Regions from separate parts of the Homo sapiens genome. Here regions 2 and 3 are each linked to region 1. The links are contacts of gene promoters, found by promoter capture Hi-C in blood cells and fetal thymus (Javierre and others, 2016). All regions are on one chromosome and are shown on one strand. The core of a region is centred on a gene start or on the middle of the fragment in contact, and the rest is flanking DNA. Distances in the headings are between cores, read along the strand shown. Region 1 holds the start of PTGIS (prostaglandin I2 synthase). Region 2 overlaps LOC105372649 (a long non-coding RNA gene). Region 3 has its middle 40 kb from the start of SNORD12.

The links. The method cuts DNA at HindIII sites, captures the fragments that hold promoters and counts their contacts. A CHiCAGO score of 5 or more calls a contact.
Region 2: a fragment that was not itself captured here is called in contact with the fragment with the promoter of PTGIS in region 1 in 3 of 17 cell types (M2 macrophages, M0 macrophages and M1 macrophages); the score reaches 7.0 in M2 macrophages.
Region 3: a fragment that was not itself captured here is called in contact with the fragment with the promoter of PTGIS in region 1 in 1 of 17 cell types (endothelial precursors); the score reaches 5.4 in endothelial precursors.

Annotation. Positions count from the first base shown.
Region 1 is chr20:49,566,096-49,569,630 of GRCh38, forward strand. It overlaps PTGIS (prostaglandin I2 synthase), which reads right to left and starts at 2,042. Exons shown (of 10, transcript NM_000961.4): 1 at 1,948-2,042. The coding sequence starts at 2,021. It overlaps LOC101927486 (a long non-coding RNA gene), which reads left to right and starts at 1,949. Exons shown (of 2, transcript XR_244188.4): 1 at 1,949-2,078. RefSeq lists enhancers at 2,342-2,958, 2,959-3,535. The HindIII fragment of the contact is 14,656 bases long and covers 1-3,535 here.
Region 2 is chr20:49,342,922-49,346,362 of GRCh38, forward strand. All of the region lies in intron 2 of LOC105372649 (a long non-coding RNA gene), which reads left to right. Among named protein-coding and RNA genes, the nearest start is that of SNORD12, 64 kb to the left of the region's middle. The HindIII fragment of the contact is 1,677 bases long and covers 1,041-2,717 here.
Region 3 is chr20:49,319,020-49,322,640 of GRCh38, forward strand. No RefSeq gene overlaps it. Among named protein-coding and RNA genes, the nearest start is that of SNORD12, 40 kb to the left of the region's middle. RefSeq lists enhancers at 1-16, 17-598. The HindIII fragment of the contact is 548 bases long and covers 2,084-2,631 here.

The sequences.
Region 1 (3,535 bases), core at 792-3,291:
GGCACATGCCTGTAATCCCAGCTACTGGGGAGGCTGAGGCAGGAGAATCACTTGAACCCAGGAGGCAGAGGTTGCGGTGAGCCGAGATCGTGCCATTGCACTCCAGCCTGGGCAACAAGAGGGAAGATCCATCTCAAACAAACAAACAAACAAAAAAAGAGCCCATAACGTATTCACATGATGGAAGACTCCAGAGAGGATCAAAAGAATGGATTCGATCTCCTTGTAGCAAAAAGATCTGCTTGTAGCAAAAAGAACAGATGTCAAAACTAAAATCTGGAGTGAAAAGAGCAAGCAACATAATGTCTGAAAACATTTCTATACAGTGTATTGAGAAAGCCTGACAGGAAAAATAATTCATTTCTTCCCTGAGACATTTATTCACTGTCTTTTTCTTTTCTTGTTTTAAGGCAAATGATTGACTACACAGTTGTAAATTTCAGCTGAAAAGATGTCTGGAGGTTGAAGAAAAATACAGTGAGCTTATTGTTTGAAAATTCAACTACCATATTGTTTAAAAATCAAAAAGTTCCCAAGGTTTCCGGAATTTTCAGACACGAATGTAAACTAACTCTCTCTTACGTGGCTCTGTATTAGCTACAAGCTCATGTCTATGTATGTAAGAGTAATTTTTATGTAAGAGTAATTTTTAAAACATCTGGGAGACTGAGGAGGTATGAAAACTAAAGGCAATGTGGTAACTTGGGGCCGGATCCTGGAACAAAAGAGGACAGTAATGGGAAACTGGATAAAATCCCGTGAAGTTTGAAGTTTAGTTAAGAGTAACGGACCAGTGTTGGTTTTTAGTGGCGACAAATGTCCCATAACAATGTAAGATGTTAACAATAGGGAAAACGGGGTGAGAGAAATACAGGAACTTTTTGTACTATCTTTGCAACTTTCTGTAAATCCCAAACTAGTCTCAAATAAAAAGTATATTTTTTTAAATATGGAAGGTTCTACCCAGACTCAGCAACAGGAGAGGCCCAGAGAGGGAGAGAGGACTAGACTTCAGGGGCTGGGGGAGGGTTAAGGGGCTTCGGTCTTACCTATAACAGGATAAATATTTGTGTTAAGTCGAATGTATTCAGCTATTCCTTATGCAATTCAAGTTAACTTAAAAAATATTTTATGAAAAGGAGAGCTACAGCTATCTCCTTGATTTGAGGCTGTCTTTACTTTTTCTCCTAAATCACAGATGCTCAATGGAGCTGGAAAACCTTTGGGACCAGGAGGCTGTGACATCTGACCCTGGCTCCGTTCTGTCCAGGCTGTGGGACCTCAGGGGAAGGTAGAGACTTCATAGGCCTCAGTTTCTCCCTGGCAAATGAAATTACTAAGCCCACCGACCCCCGTCTTCCAGACGGGGAATCCCGGGGTGGGTGGTTCCAGGGCATGATCAAGACATCCCCCAGGGGCTCTACACTCCGCTGGCTCAACACTCCCATCTGTGTAATGGGTTGAGGAGCGAGGCTATCCCTATAGGACTGCCGAAAGCAAGGCAGGGTTTGACAGCGCGTAGGTGGGTGCCAGGTGCAGGCAGAGGCTGGAGAGTGGAGAGCGCTTCTTCCACCCGGGCCACGCAGAGGCTGTCCCCGCACGGCTCCCCACCCACAAACCCTCGGTCCTCACCTGAAACCCCCTCCTAGGTCCCTGCCGTCGCGCTAAGGGCCAGACTCGGACTTGTCGCGGTGGGCGATTCGCCCCGGGGGACCTACCGGACCCCGCACCTTCCCACCTTGCACCTTCTTGGCAGGGGGAGCACGGCCTGGCCCCCTCACCCACGTGCGGGGCCCCGGGACTCCCACCTCCGAGGGTCTCGCCTTGCCCGGGATACTGGAGCGGGACTCGGGCCGGGCCGGCCGCGGGCTCCGAGACCCTTGGGCTGCAGCCCGGGCGGGAGCCGCCCCCTTTGTCTGGCGGGGCCGAGCGGAGCAGGACACTCACCGCGTGCGGCGGCGGCTCAGTAGCAGCAGCAGCAACAGTGCGGCCAGGAGGCCGAGGAGCGCGGCCCAAGCCATCGCGGGGCTGGCGGGGCTGGCGGGGCTGGCGGGGCTGGCGGCCTGGCCCACTCCCAGGTAAAGTTCCCCGCCCCCACCCGGCGCGCCCCTCCCACTCCGCCCACCCCAGCCCGCTTTGGGGCGGGGTGGGGGGGGTGGGGGATGGGGCCCTCCGAGGTCCGCAGGGGTCGGACCGGGGCGCTCTGTTAGAAACCCTGCTCCCCCCAGCTCAGGCCTGATGGAAAATGTGGGAGGGAGGGGAGGGGAGAAGGAGGGGGAGGGGGAGGGGGCGGAAGGGATGTGGTGGGCTGGGGAGTGATCAAGGGGAAAGGAGATAGATGGGGGACTGAGGGGGATGTGGTGGACTGGGGGGTGATGGAAGGGAGGGGAGAGGGAGAGGATTTACAGGAAGGAAGAGATTATATGCGGGGAGGGAAGAGGGATGGGGAAGATGGGAGAGGACTTTTGGGGAAGGGAAGAGGAGGGAATGTGGGAAGACGGCGGGACGATGGGGAAACAGCCAAGGAGGTATGGGGAGGAGGGGGCACAGTGGGAGGAGAAAATGTGGTGGGAGGGGACGAACATGGAGGAGGAGTGTAAGGGGGTCAGGAGGAGCTTTCCCACCACATTCCACATTCCACCTAGACAGAGGAAACCCCCCAAGGCTCCTCCTCACCCCATCCCCCACCCCAGGCGTGCTGGGGACCTGGAGTTTTCCATTCTGTGGTCTGGGCTGGGAGGGCTGGTCTGGATTATATCGCACCCTATAGTATCTTCAGTAACTACTGGGCAGGGGGTACAAGGGTGTCTCAGGGAGTCCCCTCATCCTCACCTGCTTTGGGGACAGATAGTGCCCGTGAAGTATGCACCCTCTACCTGGTGCACGTTAGGGCCTCCGGATGTGGTGGCCATTGTCATCGCTACCTGGTGCTTGGGGTGCCAGCCCCCTGTGCCCGCGGCTCTGCAATGTACCACCCCAGGGTGCTGATGAGAACTGGGGGTCAATCCAGCCTCACTCCACGCCCCTGCCCCCACCATCCCCATTCCCACCCTGGGAAGCGTTGGGCAGGTAGCTCAACCTCTCTGAGCTCACCTCATTATCTGGAAACAGGGAGGGCAGAGTTGTGCTTACCTCTGGGGCTGTTGTGAGGAAGTGATGAGAGCTTGACACTAAAAGGAATCACAAACTGTTGAGTGCTTGGCACACTAAGTTTTATGAAACCATGGGCTGAACCTGGAGGTAAGACCCAGGAGGTCTTGTTCTAGTCCTGTATCCACCCATTCAGTGCCGGGTGAGCTTAGGCACGTTTCATTCCATAGTCCCAGCAGAGCTCTGGAGAAGCTGTTGCTCCTCCTGGTCTCCTGGCTTCCATCCTTATCAGCCAGGGTCCTGACAAGGCCCTTCGAGAACCAGCATGATCCGCCCCTTCTCACCTTTACCTGCCTGACCCTATGCCCCCGACTCTCTCCCTCACCCACTCTGCTCCAGCCACACTGATCTCCCCATCTTTCCCTAGAGGTCCCACTGCAGGGCC
Region 2 (3,441 bases), core at 629-3,128, 220 kb before region 1:
ATCACCACAGTCCAATTTAGAGCATTTTTATCCTCCTCTGAAAGAAACCCTGTACTCGTTAGCAGCCTCTCCTTCCTCCGACCCCTCTAGCCCTCAGCAATCACTAATCTTTTTCTGTCTTTATGGATTTGCCTATTCCGGACATTTCATATAAATGGAATCACACAATATGTGGTCTTTCGTGACTAGCTGCTTTCACTTGGCAGAATGTTTTCAAGGTTCTCCCATCTTGTAGCCTGGATCAGTACTGGAGTCAGTTATTTAATGCTACATCCTGGGTTCGGGTAAAACGACCTAAAATGTGAGTCCCCCGCTTCAGGAAGCGCCGCTGTAATGAATAAAGAACCTTTTGGGGGAATCATAGCTCAATCTCTTCCTGGTTCTAAGCGGGCAGGTTCAGGCTTCCCTGCGGTGGGGTTGGAGCAGGAGGTTTATCTTTCAGCTGTCCTTGGGACTGGGCAGGAACTTGTTCAAATGTTACTGCTACTCTATCCTCCTTCCTAAATCAGGACTCTGGACGCTCCTGGGAATCACTGTCTGTTGCTGCTCTCTGGGAGTGTGAATGAATCACTGGGTGAGAATGTCAGTAGCACCTGTGTGTGCTGGTCTGGGGCGAGAATCCTGGGCCAAGGGGCAGCGGAGGGGAGAAAGAAGCAGATGGCCACGAGGCCAGCAAGGGGCTGTCCGACTCGTACCCCACAGCCAGCATTCCCTGCCTCTACCCGTACACTTGTTTTGGCTGCAGGAAGCTGTTTTAGGTGGAAATCATTTGATGTGTGTAGGTGCTGTCTTCCCAAACACACCGTGCTCGACAATTGCCCCAGCTCTGCAGGATAGACTTTTTGTAGCTCTTGGTAGCTACCCATTTTTTCAGCCTCTAAATAGTGGTGGTGCCTGTTTTAATCCTCTCATGGATCGTGTAAAGTAGGTGATCTTTTCCCCATTCACAGATGGGAAACTGAGCTTCAGGATAGTCACATGACTTGTCCAAGTTCTCATGATTAGGAAACGTTGGAGCTGGGCTTTGAACTGGACTGCAAAGCTTGTGCTCTTGACGAAATAGGAAGGCAGAGGCTGTGGTGGGGAGCAGCTTGGTTATGGGTACCCAGAAGGCAGAGCCGTTTCTTGCGTACCATAAAATGGGACATTTACCTTGGGTACTCCCTTTGGAGTGTGTTGCTGGAACTTGTGCAGGGACTTAGGGAATCTTCTGGGGAAGAGGCCAGCAATGTGTTGGGGATGGAGACGAGGAGCACTCAGTGTTATGTTTTGGAGCCTTGTCCTACACCTGAGGACCTCCAAGTCTATCAGTCAAGGCCCTTTGGGAAATGAGTGAAAGAACTCAACCAGCTCGAGCAAGGATAATTTATTGACTCATGTAAAGAAAATATCCAGGATAAGACTGCCTTCAGGTATGGCTGGATCCAGGGGTTTAAAGGTTGAAGCCACTGCCTCACTTTCTTTTGGCCTTGCTCTCCTCTCTGTTGACTTTGTGCTTAGGTAGGCATCCTGTGGTGGCACTAATGGCTGCCAGCAGCTCTAGGCTTTCTTCCTCCCCATTCTGCATCACAAAGCTGAAGACAGCATCTCACTTCCAATGGTCTCAGTCTCAGCTACAGGTCTGGGGTTGCTGCTTATTGACCAGGCTCATCTCACACCCCTGGTTCATATTCCTGAATCAATGGGTGGGGGGAGGGTGGGGGAATGCACTGTTTTGATTGGCCGGTGCTGGGTCAGGTGCATATCCTTGGAAGTGGAGGCATGGTCAGTCCTACTTGAACCACGTGAACCAAGAAGGAAAACTCGGGACCCTTGTATCAGAAGCAATGGGAATGGATGCTGGGAATGTTTCAGGCCACAGACATCCTCCTCGTGGGTGGCAGAGAAGCCACCATTCATCTCTGTGGCTTTGCTGCCAACTTGCCATGGGACCTTGAGCAAGCCACTTCCCTTCTCTGAGCCTCAGTTTCCTCATCTGAACAGCGATGATCTTTAAGGGCCCATACAGCCCTGAACTTTTGAGGCCAACAGGGTTTGTCTAGCCAACAGCCTGGCATCCTAGCTTGACAGGTCCAAGCTAAGGCTTAGGAATGCATGGCCTTCAGAAACCCTGGGGTCGAACCTGGGGCTGGGCGCCTGGCCTCTTGTTCTTGCCCATCCTGGCAGGGTACAGCCTGTGATGTGGGAGGGAAGGGTTCTGAGGAGGTTTCTTTGCACATCCCCAGCATTCTCCGTCTATAATTGGCTCCAAATGAAATGATCTCATCCCTGAACACTGAGGAAGAAAGGGTGGGGGTGAAGCTGCTCGCTGGCAGCATCTGACATAGTTTATGACTAACCCGCTTCCCTCCCGAGGCAGGGAGAGACGGTCCGCTCTCTCGAAGACAATGTACAATTTTGAAAAAAAAAATAAAAAAGTCTTGGTAAATAGATTGAGGAGGCTCCAGCCTCCTGGGCTTTTGGGAGGCCCAAGGCATTTTTCCCCTCTGCCCAAACCAGGTATCTTTTGCCCATTGCTCACAAGTCAACGTGACCCGTGCTATTACCATTCCCCAAACTTTTCACGTCAAACCCTGGCCGGGAAGGTGGTCAATGTAGCCAGTCCATCAAGCGATTTGTCCCATATGGATTCTCAATTGAGTTTTGTGGCCGGCTGGAGCTTGTTTAAATGCCCATACATTAATTTTGAAAGATGAGCTCCTAATCAACTTTTAAAAAGCTTGTCACAGCACCATCTGTTTGGCGTTTGTCACTATTGCATTACATAAGAGGAAAGACATTTTTAAAGAATGCGGCTACATTTAGTAATTGGATCGCCGGAGAGAAGCCAAACCGGGGCGGATGGCACCGTGATTCAGAAATGCCACGGGCCCTTCTCCGGGGTGTGGCGGCCTCCCCAAATTCCACGCGGTCTTGGCAGAGACCTGAGTGCAGCCCAGCTTGGGAGACAGGCTTGGGGTGGCTTCTTTTCCTCTTGCCTTGGTCTTCCTCTTATTTTTTCCATTTGTTCTCCCTCACCCCTTGCTACCCCAGTATTAGCAGTGACCAAGTGGCTTTACTTCCCTGAGTCCCAATTTCCTCATCTGGAAAATGGGATTCACAAGAGCACCATCTTGTGAGGTTTAAATGCATTAATGCCTACGGTGCCTGGCACGTGGTGAGTGCTTTATAAAGTGTTGCTATTTTATAAAGCTATGTCTGATGCATAGTAGGTGCCAACACATGTTCATTTTCCTTCCTTTTTCCCTTCCCTTTATTTATTTATTTATTTAGAGACAGGGTCTTGCTCTGTTGCCTAGGCTGGAGCACAGTGGTGCAATCTCAGCTCACTGCGGCCTTCACCTCCCAGGTTCAAGCAATTCTCCCACTTCAGCTCCCTGAGTAGCTGGAACTACAGGCATGCACCACCACACCTGACTAATTTTTTGTATTTTTTTTGGT
Region 3 (3,621 bases), core at 1,108-3,607, 250 kb before region 1:
GGAAGGGAAATGAGCACAAGAGGCGCAGGCAGGAAGGAGAGCGCCTGGTGCGAGAGAGGAAGGAGCGCACCCAGTAAGCGGTGTCGGGGGGGTCGTGAAGCTTGGAGGGCCTCGAGGGGAGGGAGGCGCTTGGGTTGAGGTAGGGCGCCAGATTTCGCAAATCAAAATACAGCACACCCAGTTAAACTCGAATTTCAGATAAACAAATCTTTCTAGAGAAAAATATGTCCTAAATATCGCATGGGATATACTTATACTAAAAAATTATTTGTTGTTTTTCTGAAATTGAAATCTAACTCGGAGTCCTGTATTTTATCTGAGAGCCCCAGCTGGGGACGGGCGCGGGGCCAAGAGAGCTGCGAGGGAGGAGGGGTTGCAAGCTTCTTTCGGGCGGAGGGGTCACAAGGCGAATGGAGAAGGTGACAAGGAGCATGGAGAAACCAAGAAAAGGGCTAACGCTTGGAGAGCAAGGATGGAAAGACGCTCAAAGCGGAGGCGGAACGGTCTGAGTGATTCCAAAACTAGTGTGTCCAAGCTGGTTAGAACTCAGGCAGGCGGGTCCAGAAGCCGAGGGGCCTGACAGATACGCAGGTGAAGTCCATCTGTGGTCCGCGTGCTGGGCGTGGCCACCGGGCTAGTCCAAGCATTCCTGGTAAAGGCTCCTCCAGAGTGGTACCCACAGCGCTCTATTAAGGGCTATTTTAGTTGAGTCATTAGTGGGAAGGACGCTGCCTATCCCCTCCCCCCCCGCCACCCCACTCCCTTCTTCTAGAGATGGAGCCTTGCTCTGTCGCCCAGGCTGGAGTGCCGTGGTGCGATCATCATTCACTGCAGCCTCGAACTCCTGGGCTCAAGCGATTCTTCTGCCTCAGCCTCCCAAGTAGCTGGATGACAGGCACGCACCACCATGTCTGGCTCTCTATCCTTTTTAAATCCCAGAAGTAAAGTTTTCACACCCACTGGAGACAAAAAAAAAATCTAAATTCTGTCACCCTGTAAAACGGTTATGACCCAACTTTCCTATGTCAGGGAGGAAAGTGATTGATTGGGCCCCTCTACCGTGTGATATCACTAGAGCTTCCTTCAGAAATTTGTTTTAAAAGACAGAGAGGGCGCTTTTAAAAAAATGCATAATGGGTCGGGCACAGTGGCTCATGCTTGTAATCCCAACACTTGGGGAGGCTGTGGGAGGATCATTTGAGGCCAGGAGTTCGAGACCAGCCTGGGCAATATTGGAAGACCCAGTCTCTACAAAAAATTAAAAAAAAATTAGCCTCAAATGGTGATGACTGCCTGTAGCACCAGCTACTCAGGAGACTGAGGTGGGAGAATCACTTGAGCCCAGGAGGTTGAGCCTGCAGTGAGCTATGATTATGCCACTGCACTCCAGCCTGGGTGACAGAGCGAGATCATGTCTCAAAAATAAATAAATAAATAAATAAATAAATAAAAATGTAAGGGACCTAACATCCATTAATCACCTATCCCTCTGTGCCCAGAAGCTGGGCTGGATGTCCCCTGGAACCTGAATACATTCTCCCTGCCCTCTGGGGTTCAGGTATGGAATAACATCCCTGTTTAGCAGTCAAGAAAAGCAAGGCTCAGAGAGGAGAGGGCTTTGGGCAGTCAAGAATTCCCAGCCAGTGGAGGAGCTGGGTCTGATTCTGAGTCTTCTAGCTCCTTGCTGCCAGGAGTGGCCAACGTTGGAAATTCAGGCAGCAGTGAGATGAGAAAGTAATTTTGGATGTGGTGTCTTCTCAAGCCATAGGCAAAAGAGAACTCCTTCCAGATTAAATTTGGGGAAGGACTGCCTGGGGGTGCTTTTGTACTGGTTGGTTTTCTGTGTAGAGAGTTCATGCAGCCGCGGGTCTGTACTGATTGGAGCTGAAGTCCCAGGTTAGCACCACCAACAGGGGCTCCCCTGCCACAGCGCAGGAGTGGGGGCCCAGGATGGGTCCAGGCAAAGGCATCAGTGATACTTTCTCATGGTCTGACCGACACCCACAGAATCACACAATGTTAGCCCCTCCCAAGAGATGTCCTTTCTATACGGAGTGGGGGCTGGAGGAACCAGGAGCCTCAAAGCTTTGCTTTCACCTTTGTTTTGCTCTTTTGGGATCTGCCTCCTTATCTGGAGCAGGGTCTTGTGAAGAGACGCAGGGAAAAGTTCACTTTCCACCTCCCAGGGGAGCAGGCAGGAGGGGACTAGTTAGGAGGCAAAAGATGTAGAGAAGTATTTGCTTTTTTCATGGGCTATTTTTAGGAGATAAAGTCAACTGCCTTAAGTGATCAATTGTAATAGAGGGAGATGTTGAAGATGACTTAAAAAACAAACAAAATCCGCAAACAACAAATCTAATATTTATGAAATACCAAATGTCAGGAAGGTACTATTTTAAGTGCTTGAAGTAAATTGTCTCATTTAAGCCTCATAATAACGCTATGGAACAGTGTTATCATGTCTGTTTTACAGATGAGGAACTAAGGCACAGAGAGGTTAAGTGACGTGTTCTGGGTTGCACAGCTCTTAAACAGCAGATCTGGGATTTGCACTCCAGCAGTCTGACTCCAGATCTCAATATTGTATAGCAGCTCAAGGGTGGCAGAGACTCAAGAATGTTAGGAGAGGGAAGCTTGAGTCTACAGGTGTAAGGAGACCCCTTGACATCTTCCCCATTTAGTTCAATTAAAATTTTCTTTTTTTTTCTTTTTCTTTCTTTCCTTCCTTCTCTCTTTTCTTTTCTTTTTCTCTCTCTCTTTCTTCCTTCCTTTCTTTTTATTTTTCAGGGTTTCACTGTGTCACCCAGGCTGGAGTGCAGTGGTGCAATCATGGCTCACTGCAACCTCTGCCTCCCAGGCTCAAGTGATCCTCCTACCTCAGTCTCCTGAGTAGCTGGGACTACAGGTGTGGGCCACCACACCCAGCTTTTTTTTTTTTTTTTTTTTTTTTTTTTTGTATTTTTTGTAGAGATGGAGTTTTACCATCTTTTCCAGGCTGGTCTCAAACTCCTGGGCTCAAGCTATCCTCCAGCCTTGGCCTCCCAAAGTGCTGGAATTACCAGTGTGAGCCTCCACACCCAGCCTCAATTACAATTGGTGGCCACCTTCTGTGTGCCCAATTCAGCTAGAAGCACTGGGGGATGGAAGCAAGGCTGGAGTTCTGGTACCCCTCAAGCTTATTGTCTATTTTTGGGAGACAAGGTAGTTGGGAAAGGAATAAATAATTTCAGTCTGAGCAAGGTGAAGCTTGGAAATGATTGGTGAGGATGGTGTGGAGGCAGGGAGAGAGTGGGGCTGGAGTGATTAGTAAGGCCTTGAAAGATAGACACCACTGTATTTTCCAAGTTATTTACAGAATGTTTCCATGTATTCTATACTTCTTAAATATCATCTCAACCCTGTATGGTTGATGTCCCTACATATACACTTATGTGTTTCCTGTAGACTTAGTACTCTTAGGGTTGTGACACAATTTAACTTAAGTTAACAAGGATATTTATTGGCTTAGGTAACTAAAGAACAACCCAGGGATTCCAGAGCTTCAGGCATGACTGGATCCAGGGGCTCCAAGGATGTCATCAGGACTCTATCTCTTTCCATTCTTCGGCTTTTCTTGTGTTA